Regions from separate parts of the Homo sapiens genome. Here region 1 is linked to region 2. The links are contacts of gene promoters, found by promoter capture Hi-C in human tissues and cell types (Jung and others, 2019). All regions are on one chromosome and are shown on one strand. The core of a region is centred on a gene start or on the middle of the fragment in contact, and the rest is flanking DNA. Distances in the headings are between cores, read along the strand shown. Region 1 overlaps TGFB3 (transforming growth factor beta 3). Region 2 holds the start of FLVCR2 (FLVCR choline and putative heme transporter 2).

The links. The method cuts DNA at HindIII sites, captures the fragments that hold promoters and counts their contacts. A contact is called where the count stands out against the background at its distance.
Region 1: a fragment that was not itself captured here is called in contact with the fragment with the promoter of FLVCR2 in region 2 in 1 of the 25 tissues and cell types used here (hippocampus).

The regions. Positions count from the first base shown.
Region 1 is chr14:75,960,850-75,963,349 of GRCh38, reverse strand. It overlaps TGFB3 (transforming growth factor beta 3), which reads left to right. Exons shown (of 7, transcript NM_003239.5): 5 at 1-34; 6 at 2,274-2,427. Among named protein-coding and RNA genes, the nearest start is that of TGFB3, 20 kb to the left of the region's middle. The HindIII fragment of the contact is 7,313 bases long and covers 1-2,500 here.
Region 2 is chr14:75,575,763-75,579,976 of GRCh38, reverse strand. It overlaps FLVCR2 (FLVCR choline and putative heme transporter 2), which reads right to left and starts at 1,357. Exons shown (of 10, transcript NM_017791.3): 1 at 336-1,357. The coding sequence starts at 1,004. It overlaps FLVCR2-AS1 (FLVCR2 antisense RNA 1), which reads left to right and starts at 389. Exons shown (of 3, transcript NR_110552.1): 1 at 389-2,200; 2 at 3,432-3,572. RefSeq lists a silencer at 1,412-1,481 and an enhancer at 2,192-2,251. The HindIII fragment of the contact is 9,380 bases long and covers 1-4,214 here.

The DNA.
Region 1 (2,500 bases), core at 1-2,500, 380 kb before region 2:
AGAAGCGGGCTTTGGACACCAATTACTGCTTCCGGTGAGACTGGGCCCACATGGGAACCAACATCTACTGCCTGCCTACTGCCCAATGGCTAGGTCAGGCCCCAGAGCCAAGCCACACTCAACAGAGGGTCCCTGATGCTATTCACAAACATCTCCAGGAAGAAGACTGAAAATCTCTCACAGAGATTTTCTCTGTGAAATCTCTTTCTGTTTTCCTGGGAGTCCCACTGTTTTTCCATAGGCTAACTCTGGAAGGAGCTGGCTGAAGTAAATGAGGAAAACTCTGTGAGGAGGAGTGTTGCTAAAATAGTTTGGATTGGAGAGGCTTGGTCAAAGCCTCTCCATGATTTCCATGTTTTAAGCACTTGTAGAGTGTATGTGTGAGATTAATGTAGGAGTTTCCATTAAAGAAGTGCTCAGTTAGTTCCCTATGAAGGGTCCAAGGATGCTACTGGATGGAGGCAAATAGAATGGTCTCCATTTGAACGGAAAGTTGGAGCTAGAGAAATTAACAAATGAATTCAGAAATTACTGGGTAGCCACAATAGAGAGATAGAAAAGACCCAGCTTCTCTTACTCAGGAGCAGTTTCACTGCTCATTTATAAAGGGAGGATAAAGTATGCATGCCAACTACTAAAAGGGAGAAGATGATCACGCCCATGAGAGGGTCCGAAGGATTAAGTGCTTTAACTGGGAGCAATGAGTTCACCTATGGACACAGGAAAGGCTTCAGAAGGGTGTGGAATTTGAGCAGAGGCTTCAAGGATGAGGTTTGGGGATGAAGGGATCCAGGAGGGGAAGCACTGCAGGTAAAGGAAGGAGCATGAGTGAGTGAGTCCATCTGGCCTCAGAGGATGCCGAAATGAAGCTGGGGAGAACGAATTGGGAAATATTTAGATCTGGAAACCATGTCTTATGAGGATGGTTGGGCTTGGGAAACTAGGGATGTTCAGTTGGGGGAACAGCTCAACAGCAAGGTATAGGAGAGGCAAGGTAGTTGCCACAAAGGCTGGCATGTAGATTTATTTATTCCATCAGTTAGGAACAAATCAGTTAGGAACGAATCAGTTATCAGTTAGGAACGAATCAGTTAGGAACGAATGATCTTGGCCAGTGACTTTAATCATAGTGATTTCTTGTTCACAAGAGGCCTGTAGCAGCAGGGTTAGGGTGGGCTGGCTGCTTAATGATGCCACCGAAGACTCAGGCTTTCTCTCTTTCCAGTCTGCCATGCTTAGTATGTTGGCTTTTCATCCTTTTCCTTATGGTCACAAGTGATTGCTAGGGCTTCAGGCACCTTGTCCACATTTAAGACAAGAAGGAATGAGGGAAGGGGAAGAGCCAGAAGCTTTCTTCTTCCATCTGTCACTTTTATAAATAATCGAATATCTTTGCCAGAACTTGCCCTTACCCCCTGCATACTTCTCCTTGTCTGATGGGTCATTACTGGGTCACATGACCACCGCTACTCTCAAGGGAGGACAGGAAAAGGAGCATCTGGTGTTTTCGACTCTGTAATGGGATGTCACAAGGGAGAAGGGAGTTAGGAATGGTTATTGAATAGATAACCAATGGTGTCTGCCATGGTTCACCCTTGGAACCCACAAGAAGCCAGATTTTGGCTAATAGCTGCCTTTGGAAGTAGCAAGTTCTAAGTCTCAGCAGATATTAAAGCAGAGGCTAGCTGTCCACTTGGCAAGCGGTATTATTGCCAAATGATCTCTGTAGGCAACAGAATTGAAGGGGCCTGATAATCACATTTGGGTGATCTGTTGAACCACGGTTCTAATAGAAGGATATGCCTTATTTGGCTAAATGGCCTTTGGATTGAGTCTCAGCAGTCACCTACTATAGTAGTCAAGCTGCATAAACTTAGAATTGATTTCTGTCTGGGTGCACATTAGGAGGGTAAAAATAAAACCAACCTCAACAAAGCTGAGTTGGCTAATAACATTCAGTGCTTGGTTTTATGTGGAGCGCTTCATAGCACTGCTTTGTATTGTGATAGAAAAGGGTGCAGGGCCACCTTTGCCTCTTTACTCTTCCTCATGCAGCATTTATCTCTGTTTCTTACATCCTTGGGATCCTGGTCTTTAACACATGAATGTGCCTTTCTGGTTTCTTCTGCCCCATGCCCTTGAACCTGGGATTCCATTGATCAGAGCCACCTATGATGGCATGAAAGGACTCCAAGGGAGAATATGAGAGCATTCATGAAGTTTCTTTTATTGGTGGTTTTAAGTTGATTTTCTATAAATGTTTTTTGTTGTAGCAACTTGGAGGAGAACTGCTGTGTGCGCCCCCTCTACATTGACTTCCGACAGGATCTGGGCTGGAAGTGGGTCCATGAACCTAAGGGCTACTATGCCAACTTCTGCTCAGGCCCTTGCCCATACCTCCGCAGTGCAGACACAACCCACAGCACGGTATGGAGCAGGCTCATGCCATCTGAGGCACTGGGGCTGACCGACCAGACCACTTGTTAAAAAGAATGAGTGA
Region 2 (4,214 bases), core at 108-2,607:
CCAGGGGCTGCTGCCAGACAGAAGAGCATTCCTGAAATTACAGGTCTAAGTTGGTGGACTGACACAGGTTCGAGAACGACACAGCGAAGGTATAGTATGTTCTAGAAGCATGCTTTTGGCTGGGGCAAGAGCAACTGTGGATGAAAGAGCAGGTCCCCCTGCTTTTGTTTCCCGCCTCTCTTACAGCATCACAATCACTGCCTGTCACACCCAGTTACTGTCACCCAGAGTCACAAACACTGTTGGACAATCAGCAAATTATAGCCTACCACACCCAATAGTTAGGTGCAATCTAACACACGCCCCTGGGAACATTCACAAACTGTTCTACCTACCTGATTGCCAAAGACAGCCACGGAGCAGGCTGTTGAAACCTCATTAGCCCCGAACCAGACGGAAGCGATGCGGGAGGGCATGCCCAGGATGAAAACCTGGGCCACAGAGCAGATGAGCTGGCCCACCACGGTGACCGGAAAGAGATGCGGCTTCAGGCTGCCCAGCTTCACCCAGGCCCCCAGGCAGTTGAGAGCCGAGCCAGTGAGAGCAATGGTGCGCAGGCCGAACTTCTCCAGCAGCCAAGCCACTGGCAGGAGCAGAGGGATGTAAGTCAGCATGTAGCACATGGACAGCCAGTCAATGGCAAAGGCACTGACACCGTAGAAGTGCATGAAGATGTTATTGATGGAGCCGTACTGGATCCACTGAAAGGAGTTGCACATGGAGTAGCAGCTAAACACCAGGACCACGGCCCAACGGCGCCTGCTCACCTTGATCACGCTGAGGTCCTCAGGGCCCGAGCTACTGGGGTGAGCCAAGCCACTGGGTTGGGCTAAGGCACTGGGGTGGGCCGAACTGCTGGGGTGGACAGAGACGCTGGGGTTGATGGAGACGCTGGGATGGACCGAGACGCTGGGATGGACCGAGACGCTGGGGTCCGCTTGGAGTGCGGACTCCGGCACAGGGGTGTCATCGCTCTCTTCCTGGTTGGGACCTTCATTCACCATCGCCACAGTCTCCTCTGGAATCCTGGAGAAGTGGTGAGGACTCCGGCAGTCTTAAGGGACAGTGGCCTCTGCTGGTCTCTTAGAGTTGAAAGGACACTTGCCTATTCCAGAAGAAACAGAGACTAGAGGCTGCGTAAAAGCCTCAAGTGGGGCTTCCTGTGCTCACCTCCAAGCTCCTGCTCCCACTTTTGCTTGGGGCTCTCTGTTGCCACCCGCGGCGATCGCTGTCCCAAGGCCGGCCGCACACGCCGCAGCCGGCTCCGGACCGCTCCTGCCTTGGGTCTCCCCACGAGGCGTTCCTTGTGCAGGAAAAGTTCTCTCCTTGCGCAGCCACTTCGCCCGCAGAGTCCTCTCCCGGGCCAGCTTGGGGCCTCGCCCAGTCGGGCACACGTGACCGCCCCGCCCCCGTCCTGCCTGGCTTCTTCCGCCCCCAACCCCCCCGCCACCACTCCACCCCCGACCCAGTGTCTCTTGCCTTCTCGAGCCCGGTCCTCCGGGCAGAGCAGTTGTTTCGCCACAGCTTGCGGGATGCATTCCTCCCCCACGCCCCGGGCGCCATGGAAACCGCCCGGTTAACCCCCACCCTTTGCACTGCCCCTCATATTCATTTGCCACCCGCTATCAGCGGACCCTGCAAGAAGATCCGCCTTCCCGAAGTAATGCCCAAAATAGAGCCTCTCCGGTGCCTGTCCGCATGCCCTGCGCGCGTGCACCAAAGCCCGGCGCCACCTAAGTGTTCTGGGGAATTCAAGAGGGATTCCCCAACTTTCTCCCCCTTGGCTTAGGCTCCCAGCCCTTTGCTGAACTAAAGAGAGATTTGTAGATTTCCCGGGCTGGTTGCGCTCCTGGGTTAAAGGGGAGTTACAGAAAACTCGCTTTACTCGCTTCTTTCCCTGCGGACGTGGTTTTGTCTTGGGGAGGTTAGATTTGAACCTGTTATGTGGGGCTATTTTTCCTGATGGATTCTGGGCGAAGACCCTAGGGTGCGGGGGAGGGAAAGGAGAGTTTGAAGAAGCCGAAGAAGCTGTCCGCGGTTGTGTGATGGAACGCTTAGCACAGAGCTGGCTCCGGGCTTGGTCTTGGAAGCGGTCTTTGAACTCAAGCAGCCCTAGTCTGCCACCTGCCGGTCCTAGCCCATTTCAAAGGGCAAACCCTCGACTCGTTGCACTGACCTCTGTCCTTGGCGAGGGATCCTGGTAAGGAGCCCAAATTCTCCCTGAGTTCAAACACCAGCTTAGCTACAATGAGGTGCCACTGTAGACCAAGGAACTCCACCTCTCTGCGCTTCAGTTTCTTCATCTGTAAAATGGAAATGATGAAATAATAGTACCTACCTCACCGTGTTGTTCTGAGACTTGAATGAATTAATACACGAATGCACTTAGAAAATTCCTGCCACATAGTAAGCATTCCGCGAATGCTGGCTATCCTAGCAAAAAGCTAACATTTGTTGTACAGTGCTAAACAAATTGAATGCATTAGCTCATTTATGCATCACAAGAATTCTGTGATAAAGTTACTATTGCTGGCCTAAATTTTATAGACAAGAAAACCCAGACTCAGAGAAGTGAAGTAACTTCTTTCTGAAGGTCCCAGCTGGCAAGAAGAGCCATAATTCTCGTTCAAGTCTGTAATCATTCAAGCTGTAGCCTAGCTATTCAAGCACAGTCTGTGGTTAGCAGCGTGGGCACCTGTGGGAGCTTTTTAGAAGGCCAGAATCCCCTCCAGTGTTAAGGCCTTAAAAAACAAAACGGCAACCACAAAACAACCAAGAAGGTTGTCAGGCCCAACCTAGACCCACTGAATTGAAAGCTGCATTTTAACAAGATGCCCAGGAGATTCATTTGTTTACACATTAAATTTTGAGAGCTACTGGGCATCACTGCTTCTTTATTTTTTTTTTCTTTGTTAAACTTCAGACCAGAAAATGAATAACTTGAAGCTCTGGGAAGTGGCTCTCCATTTTGTCTGCACATTAGAATCATATGAAGAAACTCTTAATATCCCAAGTGTTCGGGCAACACCCCATTTAGCGATCTCCGAGGGTGGACCTGAACATCTGCATGTCACAAGCTCCGCTGGTCATCCAAACGTGCAGCCAAGTTAGAACCACTGATTCCCAGGAGAGAACTAGATTCAAATGATCACTCCCTGCTTGAAGGCACCTACTTTTTGGTAGAAACTATAGAGTCTTGGATTATAATGGAATATTTGGAGAGGGAGTTCAGACTCAGATCTAAGAATTTCTACAGTAATTTAACATCTCGTATTGTCACTATTCCTCCTGTGTTTCCCATCATTCTCCAGGGAGCACAGAACTCTGTTCTTTTAGAAGGCCTTCTGAGACCTCTCACTGCTTCTTTTCCCTCGGTCATCATGGGCCTCTTCCAAAACTCTTCATAATATATTCTTAACTTCATTTTACAGATAAGGAAACTGAGGCCTGGAGAGGCGGGTGTGTTACTCAGCGTCCTATAGTGAAATAGCATCAGAACAAGCAGCAATAAAATGGGTGCTCCTTCCACGTGGCCTTTCCCATGAGCTCTTCTGGGGCAGCCCTTCAGCTTGGTGAGAGATTCCAAGGGGTCTAACCTGGGATTCAAGTGAGATTTGGAATTGCTTTTGTGGTGGAACGAGCTGGATCTGTTGTGAGATCTGGGTTGGGTCTGCTTAGACTTGAAGCTCTGTTTTGTCATTCTTAGCTTTGGTATCTTGAGCAAGTCACTTGACCTCTCTATTCTTCAGTTTCTGAATCTATCAAATAAGGATTAAAAATACCTGCCTCCAGCCTGGCACGGTGGCTCACACTTGTAATCTCAGCACTTCGGGATGCCGAGATGGGTGGATCACTTGAGGTCAGGAGTTCAAGACCACCCTGGCCAACATGGTGAAACCCCGTCTCTACTAAAAATACAAAAATTAGCCAGGTGTGGTGGCACATGCCTGTAATCTCAGCTACTTGGGAGGCTGAGGCAGGAGAATCACTTGAACCTGGGAGGCAGAGGCTGCAGTGAGCTGAGATGGCACTACTGCATTCCAGCCTGAGAGACAGAGCGAGACTCTGTCTCAAAAACAAAAAAACAAAACAAACAAAAACCTGCCTCATAGAATTGCTGTGAGAATTAAACAAGCTAATATGCATAAACTGTTTTCAATAATAATGATCATATTCTGGGAGCCACCAGGGTAGGGATGACTCTTGGCTGATTC